Linked DNA regions of Homo sapiens: region 2 is linked to region 1. The links are contacts of gene promoters, found by promoter capture Hi-C in human tissues and cell types (Jung and others, 2019). All regions are on one chromosome and are shown on one strand. Each heading gives the region's core, a stretch centred on a gene start or on the middle of the fragment in contact. The rest is flanking DNA. Distances are from core to core; before and after follow the strand shown.

What was found. Contacts are between HindIII fragments. The study calls those that stand out against the background at their distance.
Region 2: a contact is called between the fragment with the promoter of TRIM14 here and the fragment with the promoter of GABBR2 in region 1, in 3 of the 25 tissues and cell types used here (IMR-90 fibroblasts, adrenal gland and mesendoderm cells).

What each region holds. Positions count from the first base shown.
Region 1 is chr9:98,703,982-98,711,718 of GRCh38, forward strand. It overlaps GABBR2 (gamma-aminobutyric acid type B receptor subunit 2), which reads right to left and starts at 4,954. Exons shown (of 19, transcript NM_005458.8): 1 at 4,436-4,954. The coding sequence starts at 4,756. RefSeq lists enhancers at 2,580-3,151, 3,723-4,293, 6,046-6,340. The HindIII fragment of the contact is 12,748 bases long and covers 1-7,737 here.
Region 2 is chr9:98,115,833-98,123,569 of GRCh38, forward strand. It overlaps TRIM14 (tripartite motif containing 14), which reads right to left and starts at 3,390. Exons shown (of 6, transcript NM_014788.4): 1 at 3,150-3,390. The coding sequence starts at 3,356. It overlaps CORO2A (coronin 2A), which reads right to left. Exons shown (of 12, transcript NM_052820.4): 12 at 5,143-7,737. RefSeq lists an enhancer at 2,864-2,913 and a silencer at 3,224-3,323. The HindIII fragment of the contact is 7,744 bases long and covers 431-7,737 here.

The DNA.
Region 1 (7,737 bases), core at 3,704-6,203:
TTTTTAGTACATTCACAGAATTATGCAACCATCTCCACTATCATTCTCTACCTTGCATTAGAAATGATGAATACGTTCTTGCCCTGTTCTCTGTTCACCAGCTGCCTCTCTCAAACCCGGGGCTATGTTTTACACCTTTCTGCAGCATCAACAGCTCCAGTAGGTGCTCAGTAAACACCTGCTGAGCTGTACTCAGACCTTTTTAGGAAGCACAGCCTCAATTCAACAGTCCTTTAAATCCTTTTTAAAGCATAGTGAATAAGGGAAAAGATATTTGGCAAAGCCACTCAAGAAAAAAGACATGCTCAACAATCACTGGGATTTCTACATTGGATCTTGGCATCAGGGTGGTCTTTCTGACAGTTGTACCCCTAGACTGGGCTCCTTGGCTCCCTGAACTTTCTCTAAGTTTATTATTGAATGATTTAAGATAGTAACACATGAGAAAACATATAGGTCCAACAATAGGGGAATGATTAAATACGTATGGTTCACCCACAGGATAGAATAGTATACAGCCACCAAAAATCATCTTTACAAGGAGGATTTGAGGACATGGGGAAAAACCCATGATACAATGTTAACTGAAGGAAAAAAACATAAAAGAGCACATGGAGTATGATCTCAAGTACATAAAATAGTAAAAAATGACAACTGGAAGGGAATGATGCTAATTATTAGATGTTATTATTTTTGTGTAGATGGATTATGGGCAATTATTTTTCTTTATGCTTCTCTGTAATTTTCAGCTTTTCCACAATGAACATTAATCAAATTGAAAAAAAATATCTTTAACTCATTCCTTGGCTATTATTTTATTTTATTAGTGTGGCTAGAATAAGAAACAATCACATGGAGAACATTTCTGAAGACAGGAAGATCACTTGAGCCCAGGAGTTCAAGGCTGCAGTGAGCTATGATGTACCACTGCAGTCTGGCTTGAGCAAGAGAATGAGACCCCCAACTCTTTCAAAAAAAAAAAAAAAAGTCATTGTCTCTCAGATTTTTTAGATCAAACATTAAGTAATATGGTACATTTACCTTTTTACCTTGACTGCCAGGAAGCTCAGAGCTAAAATATAATACTCAATGCAATAAATTTTAGCCCAGGTTCTTGGTATAGTAACTTCTATGCTTCTACATAGTTTCTGATGCTTTCTTTTATCTGTATTTTCAGTTGTCTTGCTTGTTCAAATCCTCATTGGAATATATAAACGAGTATTTGCTGAAGCCATTTGGTGTTACACCAGAGAAGCAGAGGTTCTGATAGACAGGTATTCTGTTAGGCTGTTTCATTTTTACCAACACATGGCATTGAGTGAGGTTTTGAAAATCTACCACTATTCTACTTACAGAAGAGAGTCAATCTGGTTGTAGGAGGCTCCTTTATTGAGACAGATTGTCCCCAGGGACCAGATTAACCCATTCCTTGCTAAATCTCCATCTCTCTGCAGATCATATGGATAAAGGTCCATACTGGTGCCCATAGTCACTGGCCATTGAGGCCACTGATTGACAGCAAATGTCAGCAAATCCAGCCAAAATCTGTTCACCACATCCACCCTGTGTTAAAGTCTACAAACAATGTGACACAGCCTGCAAATAATTAGGCAGTGTCCACAAAGACAGCCAATCTGAATAAACTAGACCCTAAACACTCTAACACTAGCCACAAACATTCTTTAGATCGCTCTAGATTTTGCTGCAAATTACCTAGACTGATCCTTCCTTCACTCTGGCTCAGGGAGAAAGCACCTCTACTTTAAAGATAAGGCCACTTGTGAATTCACAGGAAATAAAAATGAAGGAAGGGAGCTGGGCACGGTGGCTCATGCCTGTAATCCCAGCACTTTGGGAGGCAGAGGTGGGCAGATCACCTGAGGTCGGGAGTTCAAGACCAGCCCGACCAACATGGAGAAACCCCATCTCTACTAAAAATACAAAATTAGCTGGGCATGGTGGCACATGCCTGTAATCCCAGCTACACGGGAGGCTGAGGCAGGAGAATCACTTGACCCTGGGAGGTGGAGGTTGCGGTGAGCCAAGATCACGCCAATGCACTCCAGCCTGGGCAACAAGAGCAAAACTCTATCTCAAAAAAACAAAAACAAAACAAAACAAAAAAAACAAAAAAAAAAAAAAAAAGAAGGAGGAGGAGGAGGGGAGGCAGCAGGACACATTTATTTAGTGCTTACAGCATGCCAGAGCACTGGCCGCTGAGCCTGCCAGCTCAGGGCATCTTCTACCCTGGCCTGTTATCTTCCTTAAGCTGTGTGTCACCTGCAGAGTACACATAATATTCCCACCTAGGCTTAGAGAGATTAAATACCCAGCTCAAGGTCATCCAGGGTGGAAAGTAACCAGTTTCTCACTAAAACCCAGGCCCCACCTACCCCAAAGCCCTGGCTCTGGGCCCCTTCAAAAGGCTAGAGACACTTCTCTGTTTGCACGAAGCTAAAATTATCTTCTGTCTTCCTTCCCACTGTTTTCTAAATATTCCCACGAATTGAAGAGTCTTCTGACTGTCTCATCCTCTTGACTTTGGGTCCTTTCACTCAGAAAGTCATCAAGACACACTCGAAAAATAAAATGTAAAGGCTTCAACCCACACCCTGAAACGAAGCACCCATCTCTTTGCTGCCACAAACAGGCCAGTATGAAATCTCTTTCAGGGAAGCTTTCTAAAGGGAAGAAACTGATGATGAAAACATTATGCAGCTGACAATACTTGGTGATGATGCAAGCAGGGCTGCCCTATCTAAAAATGTGTTTGTCCCCAAAAGACCGGCTTTGCAGTGACCCCTCCAGAAGAATATGTGCAGTAGCAACAGAGAAACTGTCAAGAAGATATGCCTCCGTGTAACTGCATTGCTGTCTCCATTTATGTGTGCCAGACAAGTACCCCCACAGAACTTGAGATGCTCAGGCAAAGACGAGGGCGATAGGAATGTCATTCGGAAATGATTTCACACCGGGTTAGCCCTGCACAGCCAGCCAGCTTGCATCCTCTGGGGCAGAGGACGCCTCTCCGCCTGCAGCAGCCTGCGCGTACCGCTGCCAACTGCCACCGGTTCCTTCACCTTTTATTTACAGCGCAGAGCAAGCTGGTTCACCGGTGAAGCGGGGGAGGCAGGGAATAAGATACAATCTAGATTCTGCTCTTTCTCTGGGGACATAAAGAGGGTCCGACCAAGGAGGAGGGGAAGCCCAGATTGCACCACCAGAGCAGTAGCGCGACCCTCCTCCCAAAAGGGTTCTGCACCTGGACTCCAGCAGAAGCGCCCGGAGAGTCCCAGGAAGCCAGGATCAAGCCCAGCGCCTCGGCCCCGTTCCGCGCGATGGAAGAGGCGCCAACCGAGCGTACTGCACAGGAAATCACTGCCCCCTTCAGGCCGCGTCTCAGACGCTGCGGTCGGAGCACAGGGGCTCGCTCGGTCCGGAAAAACTCGCAAACCCGACCTTGCGCGGCCAGCGATCGCTCCTCCAGACCCGCTCCGCGCGCTCCAGCCCCGGCCTGGCGGTGAAGGTCCGCTCTGGGGCTTCAGGCAGAACCCAAACCGAGGGCGTGGGGAGGGGTCTTGGGATGGAAAGCCCTTGGCTCTCTGGCTCCGCTCCGGACTGCTCTCCAAGTCTGTGCTCCGGCTGCTAGGTCGGATGCTTCAAGCCTGAGCCGTGAGAAACTGCCTGCAGCCGCCCGGCCAACAGCAGCGGCGCGGCCGGACACCACTGCACGTCCGGGACGAGAACTGCCAGGGCACTTTCTGAGCAACTAACCCGAGGCAGGGGTCTCCTGAAATCGCTCTGGCCACAGGCAGCGCCGGGCACGTCCAGGCAGAAGCGCTGCAGAGCCGGTGGCCCCACACTTGCCCGCGCGGAGCGGGCTCAGAGCTGCTGGCGCGCACCAGGCGCCCAGCCACGCTGCACGCTCAAGCCCCTTGGGTTCCGGAGCCTTCCGGACCTCAAAGCGCGGCTCGGCTTCCCTGGGGGCCTGTGAGCAGGCCCGCGGCCCCTCCGGCCCTGGGTGGCCCAGTTTGCAGTCAATGCGCCTGTTCCTCCCACTCGGTACCTCGCAGCCCCATGAGCGGGACCTGGACAGGGACAATCAATGTAGGCCTTTGGGGGTCCAGCCCCCACCTTCTCCACTCCTTTTTCTCTGGTCAAAAGAGACCCCAGTCTTCTATCCCACCCCCACCCCTCCCCACACACACATACACACATAAGACCAGAGGAGGGGGTGCTTGGCAAATGTTACCAGCTGTGCCAGCCAAGCCCAGCAGGACCGCGGGGGTGAACACTGGGCACCAGCCCTCTCTGCCCTCGGCAGGCGCGGGCCGGTCAATCGGGGATCTGACCAAAGGCCGGAGGTTGCCTGTGTCCAAACCACCCACCCCAATGCCCCCCGAAGCCCCGACGGCAGGGGCAGCCGGACACTCACCTCCGTGTCATAGAGCCGCAGGTCGAGGAAGTAGGGGCGCAGGAGTGACTCGTTGCGGATCTGCTCGATGGCCAGTTCCACGGCGGGGAGCACACCGCGCCCGATGCTGCCCTTGGCCACCTCCTTGGTGAGCGGCATGAGGCCCATGATGGAGAGCGGCGGGCTGCTGGGCGGCGGCCGGGGGGCGCCCCGCGCCCAGCCCCAGGCCCCGGGCGCCAGAGGCAGCAGCAGCGGCAGCAGCAGTAGCAGTAGCAGGCGCGCGGGCGGCGGTGGCGGCGGCGGCGGCGGCCCGGGCTGCCCGGAGCTCCGCGGGGAAGCCATGCCGCGCCGCGGGCTGCGGGCGCCGGCTCACTCGGCCCGCATGGCCTGGCCCGGCCCGCCGCCCCGCGCCAAGGTCTTCCCGCGGCGCCCGCGCAATGGCGCCGGCCCGGGCCCCGGCTCCGTCTCGGGCTAGGGTTCCGGCTCGGCTCAGAACGGCCGCGGCGGCGGCGGCGGCAGCGGCGGCGCCCGTGACGGATCAATCACGCCGGGAAGGGGTGGGAGCGAGCGGAGTGCGGGAGGCGGGGAGCAAGCGAGCAAACGCGGAGAGGGGGGCCGGCGTCTCCGCGCGCGCCTCTCTCCAGCGCGGCCGCCCCGCACCGGGCCGCCTCCGCCCGCCCCCGTGCGCGCTCTGAACCGCTCTCCCGCCGGGAGCTGCTAGGCGGCAGCCCCTGGAGCTCGGCCGGGGGAGGGCGGACGGCAGGAAACGCGGGAGGCGAAGGCGAGGCTGCTCAGGGGCGGCTCGGGCCGCCTCCAGGGACGGGGACGAGCCGTGCGCGCCGGGGGAGGGGGAGGCGCTGGCGCTGCGGCGGCCGCGGGGAGGGCCACCTTCCCAGCACACGCACACACGCGCCCCCGGCCCTCCGCTGCGCCAGCTGCCGCTGCCCGCCGACCGCTGACCTCCAGGCACCAGAGCGCCCGGGGACAGCGATCTGGGAACCGGGACCGCGCGCTGGCACACGCAGTGGCCGCCGCCGCTCCGCCGAGCGCTGCCTGTAGCACCTGCACGGTGGTTTGGAACCGCTTCTCGGAGGTCTGGCCGGGAAGGTCTGGGCAGGAGAATGTTCCACGAAGGCGTCCCAGAGGCATCTGCAGCCTACGCTCTCCCGTTCTTTTCTGGCGCCCACGAGCCCCTGACCGAGTCCCGGGGGTCGCTGAAGACGCCCACGGGTGCTCGAACGCCCGTTGGTGCCAGGCTGCCCGGCCTTTAGGGCCTTGGCTGAGGACACCCCTTTCCTCCCCACCAGACGGAGCGACCGCCCTTTGCCAACCCCAAGCAAAGCTGGGGTCCCAACCTTACGTGCGCTACCGCCCCCTCCAGGCATTTGACCTCCCCGCGTCCCCATTCTTGATGGGCCCCGCCCTAGAAGTCTCCCGGGGTGGGAGCACTATCCTCAGGCCAGGGCGGGGCCGCGCGCCCCTGGACTTGGCCCTCTCTCTGCCAGGTCGCACTGGCCAATCTTAGCCAAAGCAGTCCCGAGCCAGATGTACCCGAGTGAGCTGACCTAAGACCTTGGGTTCCTTGTGCCTCTGCATACTTCAAGAATAGGAAACGTGATCATTAATCTATAAAGTCCCAGGGGCTGATTAATGCGAGGAACACAGTAGGACATCAAATCACAAAACATACTTGAGCCTGAACCAGGGACTGTGGAAGATATCGACGACCTTGTAACAAGAATGGAAGTTTGACCTTCGCTGAGTACTTACTGTGTGCCTTATGATGTAATCCCCACAACTGCCCTGTAAGCATACTGTGTTACTCACCCTTACTTTACAGGCGAATACACTGGTGCTCAGAGAGGTTCTGTAGCTAGTGGAAGCACACAGAGCTACTGAAGGACCGGAACCCAGAGCCAGCAGGAACTCCGTGCACAGTGCAGTGGGAGCCAGGGATGTGGGACTGCAAGTTTCCTCTCCAGGAGGAGCACTGCCCTGACTCAGTTGCTCTGGACATCGATTCCCTCCGGCATATGGTGAGGGATTTGGACCGGATGATGATGATGATGGCCACACACCAGCTCTACTGGAGTGAGGCAAGGGCAGCTCTGAATCCAGGCTGAGTTGTTAGGAAGCACAAAGATGTGAGTGGAGGCTGAGCAGAACTACTAGAGAGTACCTTGGACAGCGCCAGGGAAACCAGGCCAAATTCTCTCTGCCCTAACTTCTCTTTCCAGGCTTCTATAGACTCCACCTCTCCCGGCTCCACTTGGCATTTCCTTTTCCCCAAGCTGGAGGGTTTGCATGAACAGAACTCACCTGAGCATCTCCTCCAGGAAGGGAGGAAGGAAGGGAGGGAGGGAAAGAAATGGTCCAAAGGACAGTGTAATCCCCAGATACTCGCTCAACTGCTGTCTCACTTGACATCACAAATATCCTCCAGTCATAGTCTTCTGGCACCTGCCATTCCTCAAACCCTTAGCTCAGGTTTCTGAATGAACATTTTCACTTGGTTTTTTTCTTTTTTCTAATTCTTTCCTTTAGTCATTTGTGTCCTCCTTGCAAGCTGTGCCAATATAGAGTGTCCACTGACACCTACATCTGGGAATAAGTTGAAAGCTGGGTAACTTTGCCTGACATTTACTAAGGGGTTGAAGGCCCTACCTGGCATCCTGCCCTACAGCCCCTCTGTCTTCTTTTATGGTGGGGTGACCTGGCCCCAAGACGCATGACCTGGGATCTGCCCTGACCCAGGGGGCACCAATCTCACTCTCCATCAGCATGGCTCCAGGCCAATCTCTGATCTCACAGCCCACTCCTAATGCCTGGGCATCCCTCTGGTTCCAAGATCTTACTCTGGCCTGGTATTACAGTTTGGGTAACTGCATCCCTGATGTGCTTCCTGAGTCTGAGTTCCTGCCTCAGTCACCAGCCTAGAATGCATGTTCCTCCAGAGCTGGGGTCCAGCGTCTTGCTTTATAATAATCATTCATTCCTTTGACCAGTGTTTTGAAGGGCATGCTACCTGCTAGGCACTGTCCTAGGAGCTGATGATATAGGAAGGAAAAAACCAGAACAAAATCCCTGCCCTTGTAGAATTGACATTCTAGTGGAGAAAGAGAAACAATAAATAGGAAGAAGAAGATATGTTAGTATGCCCATTTATGAAAAGTGCTATGGTGAACAAAAAAGCAGGAAAGAGGATTGAGACTGGCAGAGTGGGGCTGCAATTTGAAATAGGGAGGTCAGGGAAAGACACACTAAGGTGACTCCTCAGCAAAGACATAAAGAAGGTAAGTAAGAGAGACAGGCGAATAGTGTTC
Region 2 (7,737 bases), core at 2,140-4,639, 590 kb before region 1:
GCTTTCAGGAACTGAAGTCAAGTTTACAGAGCCCATAAGAAGACCCTTGGGGGCCAGGCTTGGTGGCTCAGGTCTGTAATCCCAGCACTTTGGGAGGCTGAGGTAGGTGGATCACTTGAGTCCAGGAGTTTGAAACCAGCCTGGGCAACATAGTGAGACCCCGCCTCTATTAAAAAATGTTAACAAGAATAAAATAAAATACAATAAAAGGGGGCCCAGCACTTTGGGACACTGAGGTGGGCAGTTCACTTGAGGTCGGAGTTTTCAAGACCACCCTGGCCAACATGGTGAAGCCACATCTCTACCAACAAATACAAAAATTAGCCAGGAGTGGTGGTGCACACCTGTAGTTCCAGCTACTCAGGAAGCTGAAGTGGGAGAATCACTTGAACCTGGGAGGTGGAGGCTGCAGTGAGCCAAAATTGCACCACCACACTCCAGCCTGGGCAACAGAGTGAGACCCTGTCTCAAAAAAAAAAAAAAAAAAAAATCCTTGGAAAGACTGGACTAGCTTGGTCCTTGTCTACACAGTTCCCTTACAAGGTTCCCGACCTTGTGGTAAGAAAAGAATGTCACTTTCCGACAGGTCTAGGAACCTCAAGATATTTTGGGACCTTGAGAAGAGAATAATTCACCCAATGTGTATGGGTATCACAGGCATAGTCTGATGGTGAATCCTTGGTTTGGCTTTTTAGCTGTAAGGCTTTTAAAAGTCAAATCCAGGCCAGGCGTGGTGTTTCACGCCTATAATCCCAGCACTTTGGAAGGCTGAGGCAAGAGGATCACTTGAGCCCAGGAATTCTAGACCAGCCTGGACAACATGGTGAAACCCCGTCTCTACAAAAAAAATACAAAAAAAAAATTAGCCAGGTGTGGTGGTGCATACCTATAGTCCCAGCTACTTGGGAGGCCAAGGTAGGAGGATTGCTTGACCCTGGGAGGTGGAGGTTGCAGTGAGCCACGATCATGCCATTGCACTCTAGTCTGGGTGACAGAGTGAGACCCTGTGTCTCAAAAAAAAAAAAAAAAAAGTCAAATCCAAAATTCCTTATGAAAGTTCCAATAATGCAAATTATCAGGCCAAGTGTAATATTAAAACTTACTTTGCAAGTAAATTTGTCCTATCAAGACTCATTTTTGGTAAAAACAGGGAACTAGAGAGAGAAAAATTATGTTTCAGAAGAAAATCTTAGCACACCTGTTATGCACACCTGTTATTCCTGTTATTAGATTCCAGCCCTGGCCATTGTTTTTTAGTTTTTATTTTCCTGCAATTTGGACTAAATCCTGAATTATTTCCTGGCTACAACAAGGAAGGTTGTAGAAAAAGTTTTAGAAGCCAATTCCTGGCTTTTAAAGAAGGCTTGGGATTTTCTTCGTGATGTTTTTAGTTGACTCCCCAGTGGAATAGGTTTGGTGTTGTTCTGCCATAGAGATTCTCTGTTTTATTTATTTATTTATTTATTTATTTATTTATTTATTTAAGACAAAGTCTCACTCTGTCATCCAGGCTGGAGTGCGGTGGCGTGATCTCGGCTCATTGCAACCTCCATCTCCCAGGTTCAAGCGATTCTCATGCCTCAGCCTCCTGAGTAGCTGGGATTACAGATGTGTACCACCACACCTGGCTGATTTTCATATTTTTTAATAGAGACGGGGTTTCCCCATGTTGGCCAGGCCTCAAACCCTTGGCCTCATGTGATCCTCCTGCCTCAGCCTCCCAAAGTGCTGGGATTACAGGCATGAGCCACTGTGCCCGACTGCTTATGTCATTTTAATGTAAATTCTTGGTAAACAATTTAGGAACTGCTTCTTCTTTTTTCCTTAAAAACTTATATGTAACTGCTGCTAATCAGAGTGGATAGTCACAGAAATTTGAATCTATGGTCCCAGTTGGCCATCCTCAAGCTTTAGGCTTGGATAAACTCTGTACTTAATCATATTTTCTGAATCTTATTACTTCAAGTTGACAGTAGGTAGTGGGTAGGGGGATGGACAAATGGATGGGTGAGACTCTTGAGCCAGATCTGTGGAAAGCAGCCTTGTTAATTCTGAATAACAGTTTTTCAAGGAGCCATTATTATAATTACAGCCATTTCATACGTTAAAAAAAGGAAGGGTCTGGTGGCAGGGACAGGTCTTGAGCCCACGACTCCACTGGATTGTCCCCCATGATCCCCTTTTCACCTTGGAGTTCCAAGGTTGTCACAGTGTGGTGGTCTGGAGTCATGCAGTACCGGAGAAAGGCTCACGATGGGGCTGAATTCATCACAGAAGACTTCTTGGAGACAAGTGGTAGGATCAACAGCTGTCAGACATGAGGGCCTACCTCACCCAGGCTTCATGAAACCCAGAGAGAGAGAAGGATTTGAGAGAAGCCACAGAAAAAGTCAGCTGGGAAGCTGGAGCAGGAGCCCAGAGCCCCTGGGGCACTGTTAGGATTATGCATGGGTAAGGGTTCCACGGTGACAATGGCCCTGTTGGGGGCATCTGGCTAATGGAGTCCTGGGTTCAAGGCCTGCCCCTGCCTCCAGAGCCTTCCTCTTGTGGCCTATAAAATGGCTGTAATAATAATGGCTCACCCAGGGCTGCTATGAGCAGGAATGGGAGTGTCTGTGTGGCCGGGGAGGGGAGAGGAGGTAGGTAGTGACAGCTGAGGCTGCTCCCAGGGCAGTCAGGCCGTCCTCAGCTCAAAGTTCACAGGCCCTTTCTGTGGACTGCAGATTAAGTAAACCTGAGATGTCTGTGTGGCTTTCTGAGCTACACAGGGCTGTTTATTAAGAGGGAGAGTTTGTACCTCTGTTAACTAAAAGGCAGACTGTCTTCCAGCCCAATGGCAGTGTGGCGGATCGGCCATGGTGGACACGGTCAAGGACATCTGGGTACCAGCCTGGGCTCCCAACCTCTCACTCCTAAACCCACCTTTTCTGAAGCTCAACTGATGGCTTTGGCTCGCCTTTGCCCTTCCTTGGGTCTCAGGCTCCCGCTCTGAACTTTCGGTCGACCGCTTAGACGCCCTCTGGGGCACCTTTGGTTTCCAGGTTGTAACCCGCCACTGGCCACGGCCAGGCACGCCCCCTCCTCGGCCGTTATGCCTGGGCTGGCTCCCCCAACTCCCGCGCGGCGAACCCCGTCCCCATCGTCCCCACCTGCACGTGCACCGCTGCCTCCAGCGCCAGGCCCACAGGGTGGCCACGGTGCGCGCCCAGCACCGGGCAAAGCGCGCACACGCAGCGGCGGCAGCGGCGACAGAAGAGCTCAGCCACGCGGTCGCCATGCTCCGGGCAGCGCCAGCCGCATCCCTCGACAAGCTCCGACCTCCCAGGGGTCCGGCTCCCGGTCGCCGCGCCCGCCATTCATCTCCACCTCCTCCGGCTCCCCGGGACACAGGGCGGGGCTCCCAAGGGAAACCGAAACCTCGGCCGTGGGCGGGGCGGCTCCAGGCCGGCCGGCCGACCCCTAGGAGGATGACAGCCCGCCGGGAGCAGCGTCGGGCCTCGGAGCATCCTCCGACCAGCAGGGTGCTCCCTCTGCCCGCCCAGGCCGGGAGGTGGTCCCACCAGAAATGGGAAGCTCCTAATGAGCCAGCTAGGAGAGGGTGGGCTTCCTGCTTAATGACGCTGTTCCAGTAACGCCCAGAAAACTGCAGCCCTGATGATGGGACCAAAGTTGGCTGTGACCTTCCGGGGGTGCTCCTCTCACTTTCCCTTGATCCTCTCTTGCCCTTTTCCCCGGAAAGATAATCATTCCCACAACTGTAAGATACCTTCATCAACCTCAAATAAGGACACAGAGATTCTCCAATTGAGTTTATTTCGGACTGAGCAGAAGGATTGCAATTCGGGAATAAATGTGCCATGGCACCCAAGGGGTGGGGACGCGGAGTACTCAGGGAGGCAAAGGAAAGCAGAGGCTTTTAAAGGCAAAACGAGGAGGATTGCATATACTGTTTTTTTTGTTTGTTTGTTTGTTTTTGTTTTTTTTTTTTTTTTTTTTTTTTGGAGACGGAGTCTCGGTCTGTCGCCCAGGCTGGAGTGCAGTGGCGCCATCTCTGCTCACTGCAAGCTCCGCCTCCCGGGTTCACGCCATTCTCCTGCTTCAGCCTCCCGAGTAGCTGGAACTACAGGCGCCCGCCACCACGCCCGGCTAATTTTTTGTATTTTTAGTAGAAAAGGGGTTTCACTGTTTTAGCCAGGATGGTCTCGATCTCCTGACCCCGTGATCTGCCCGCCTCGGCCTCCCAAAGTGCTGGGATTACAGGCGTGATCCACCGCGCCCGGCCAGATCGTTTTAAAATAATAATACTTGGTTACAAGAATTAATACAGGTGGCTTCAGTCCAAAAGTTGAACAGGCAGTTGCTGGGCAGATGTCCTCATATCATGGCTTTTGTGCAAGGTTGTGGTTCTTTGTGCAAGGTTGCAGTTTGGTGGAATCTTTTGCAATAATAGTTCCTGTTACCAGGCAAATCGTTGATGAGGGCCCCCCACTTCATGGCCTCCCAGCACCATTTAGTTTGTTTGAGACAGGATCTCGCTCTGTTGCCCAGGCTGGAGTGCAATAGTGCGATCATAGCTCACTGCAGCCTCTAACTCCTGGGCTCAAGTGATCTTCCCACCTCATCTCTGGAGTAGCTGGGACTACAGGAGCACCATTTAGTTTGGTTTTGATGTAAGTGACTCTGTTTTGGTACTGACAACTTTCACACACACACCACCACCCCAAATTCCAGTTGCCCCCCCAGGCTCAAGTCTAGACTTCCACTTATAAAGCCCTCAGCTCTTTCTTAAGATCCTTGGTCTCCGCCCTGCCTATGCTCCACCCTGTGCTTTTTCAAGACTGGGGGACGTGCAGTTTACCCTGCTTGGAACATTCTTCTTCCCAAATGCCCTTTGCCCTGAGTATTCCAACTTACTCTGCAGGTTTCTACCTTACTATCTTTTCCTCCAGGAAGCCTTCCCTCCTTCTCCTTCCAGAACAGCCTATGCTTTCCCTATCCTGGCCCTCCCCATTCCCGCAGCCATGACTGAAAACTGGAGAGGGCAAAGACTGTCTGTTCTGCCTGTTTTCCAGCTTGGTGTCTGACTCCAAGAGTAGATAGTTAATTGGTATTTGTGGAACAAATCAAGAAAAGGAAAGCTCCTTGTAGTAAAATGGCCAGATGTTTATTATTTTGTTACATTATTTCCATTGCATATTCCACATCTATTTATTTTCACTTTTATTTATTATCATTATTTTTCACAAAGGTACAAGGAATTTCAGAAACAACATTAAAACAATCATTCAAACTGTTTCAGGCACGGTTTCAATTAAAAGCATAGATTTGATTTCTGACTTCCTGTTTCCTTCTATGATACAATCTCAAGTTTTGTTTCAGGAAGCACAATTATTGTAGCGTTAAGGTGGATACCTGCCAAAGCTCATCTCCTAGTGCTGTCCTCATTCTCAGAAAGTTCCTGAGTCAACAGAAAGGGGACGCCCAGGGTATGGAATAAGGAGATGAGAGCATGCTCTGCCAACTGGCTGGGACCTGAATGTGCTAGGCAAGTTCCACTACATCAGCTCAAGAACATAAACAAAAATGTAATTTAAAAAACAGATGGTTTAAAAAAATATCTGATAAAAATTACCTATCCCTCTCCCTTGCTGTGAAATAATTTAAATAATTTATTCTAGATGTAAAAATAATAATACAAAAAAGTTTGTTCAAAGACACCTGTGTCCTGTTTGTTAAGTGTGCAGTCTGGGTCCCTTGGGGTGGAGGGAGCTGGCCAAGGAATGGCATTGTGCAGAGGCATACCGGGAAGCTCTCTGGATGCAACCCCACCTCTACCGCTTGGCAGTCAATGACCTTGGCATGATGTTTCTTCACTTCTCTGAGGCTAGGTCTTTGATTCTGAACATGGGGACTGTAATGCCTGCCTGACCTGTGTTAGAACAGCATGTGTCACTGAGTGGAGGTGGGAGGAATTTGTAAACTGTGAAGTGCTAGCCACACAGGTGGGAAAGGTAAGCCTATCCTGTAGAGCTCTGCTGCCCTGACAATGCCTGGGATTTGGCCTTCTTTTCTGGAGCACACTAAGGCAATCTTGGCTAGTGCATCAGACGGGAGTGAGCCCCAGTGACTGAGTAAATGGAGAATAAGACAAGGAACACGAGCATCCGGCCTGTGCAGACATACAAGCAGAATAAACCACAGCTGGGTAAGGGGCAAACAGGGGCACTGAACCCCCATCGTGCTGCAGCTGCGGTTCCCAGAGATGTTGAGGGAGGGCTTGGGGCAACACTTCTGGACTTTTAAGGAGCCACCAGGCAGGACTTAAGAGATCTGGGTTGAGTCCCAGCTCCTGTCTGGAGCTTGCTGTCCTCTTCATCTTTATTGCAAATAGGTACACATGCAGTCTTCCATCTTCACTGTACTGCAGATCACCTGTGGAGCTTATATGACCATACAGGCCCTACTCTGGAGATTCAGCTTCAGTTGGTCTGGAATGTGGCATGGGCATCTGTATTTCCTGCACGCTCCCAAGGGAATTCTAATGTACACAGCTTGGGTTGAAACCTACCAGACTAGGTGGCCTCCTGCAGTCCCCACCTCAGCTCCAGAATCTAATCGCCCTGTGCAATGGAGATCATCTGCCCCTCCTTGGTAAGGAGGGACCAATTTCACTTCTAATCATTCCCAGTCTCTTGGTGGACTATTGTATTGACCACTGAACTTTAGAGTAGGGCTCGGAACACAGATTCACTAAGGAGGGACAAAGAAAAGCTTTCAGGCTAAAAGGGAACTTTGGGACCATCTGGTACTACTTCTTTACCTCGTATAGTCATTTCAGAAGACCTCCTGGTTAGGTGGCCAGAGGCTCTGCTGGCATGTCTCCAGTGATGGGGGCCCCCTACCTCCTGGGGGACTCTTCTGTTAACTAGGGCTGAAATCTGCCCACATCATCCTGCAGGAGGCAGGCTGTGTACCTGAGGGCCTTGGTGGTGGCAGTCAGCAGTCATGGGCACAGTTCTGAAGTCTGCGTCCCTCCATAAGGGACAGCATCTATCCATATCAGGCTGATTCTGGTTGGAAAGGTTGGTTTTGACCACCTGCCTGTGTTGTAGAATTGGGTTGAATGCCTCTGACCCCTTGCCAGTGTCCGTTAGTTTCTGTAGCAAACCCAGATCACCCCACAGGTAGTTTTCTCTTAGGTCAAGGTTTCAGGTGGCAGATCCTGCAGAGAGCAGCTTGTTCCAGGGTACCCCTGGTTCAGATGAAGAAACTGAGACCAGAGAGGGCAGGACTTGCAAGAGGTCACTGAGTAAGCTGGGGCACAGCTGAGGCCAGAAGCAACAGATTTCTACTCTTTGGGCTGAGAACTGCATCAGACCCAAAAGAGCAAAAAGACAGACCCAGAAAAGCAGGATCTCAGCCCAGCCCTGCCATGAAACAAATATCACTTGCCTCTCTCTAGGCCTTAGTTTCCCCAGCTGTAAAATGAGGAACTTGGGTCAAATCACTAGCTTTCAAACTTCTAAAAAAATTTTTTTTTCCTAGCAGAATTGTTTTTCATACTAGCCCAACATATAAAATAGAAGGGAGCTGTCTGGTTGGAATACAGTGTGGGGAAGGGAGACACAGCCTTCCTGCTTAGTCTTCCCCTATTCTCTCTCTCTTTTTTTTTTTTTTTTTGGAGATGGAGTCTCGCTCTGTCACCCAGGCTGCAGTGCAGTCCGCAATCGTGGCTCA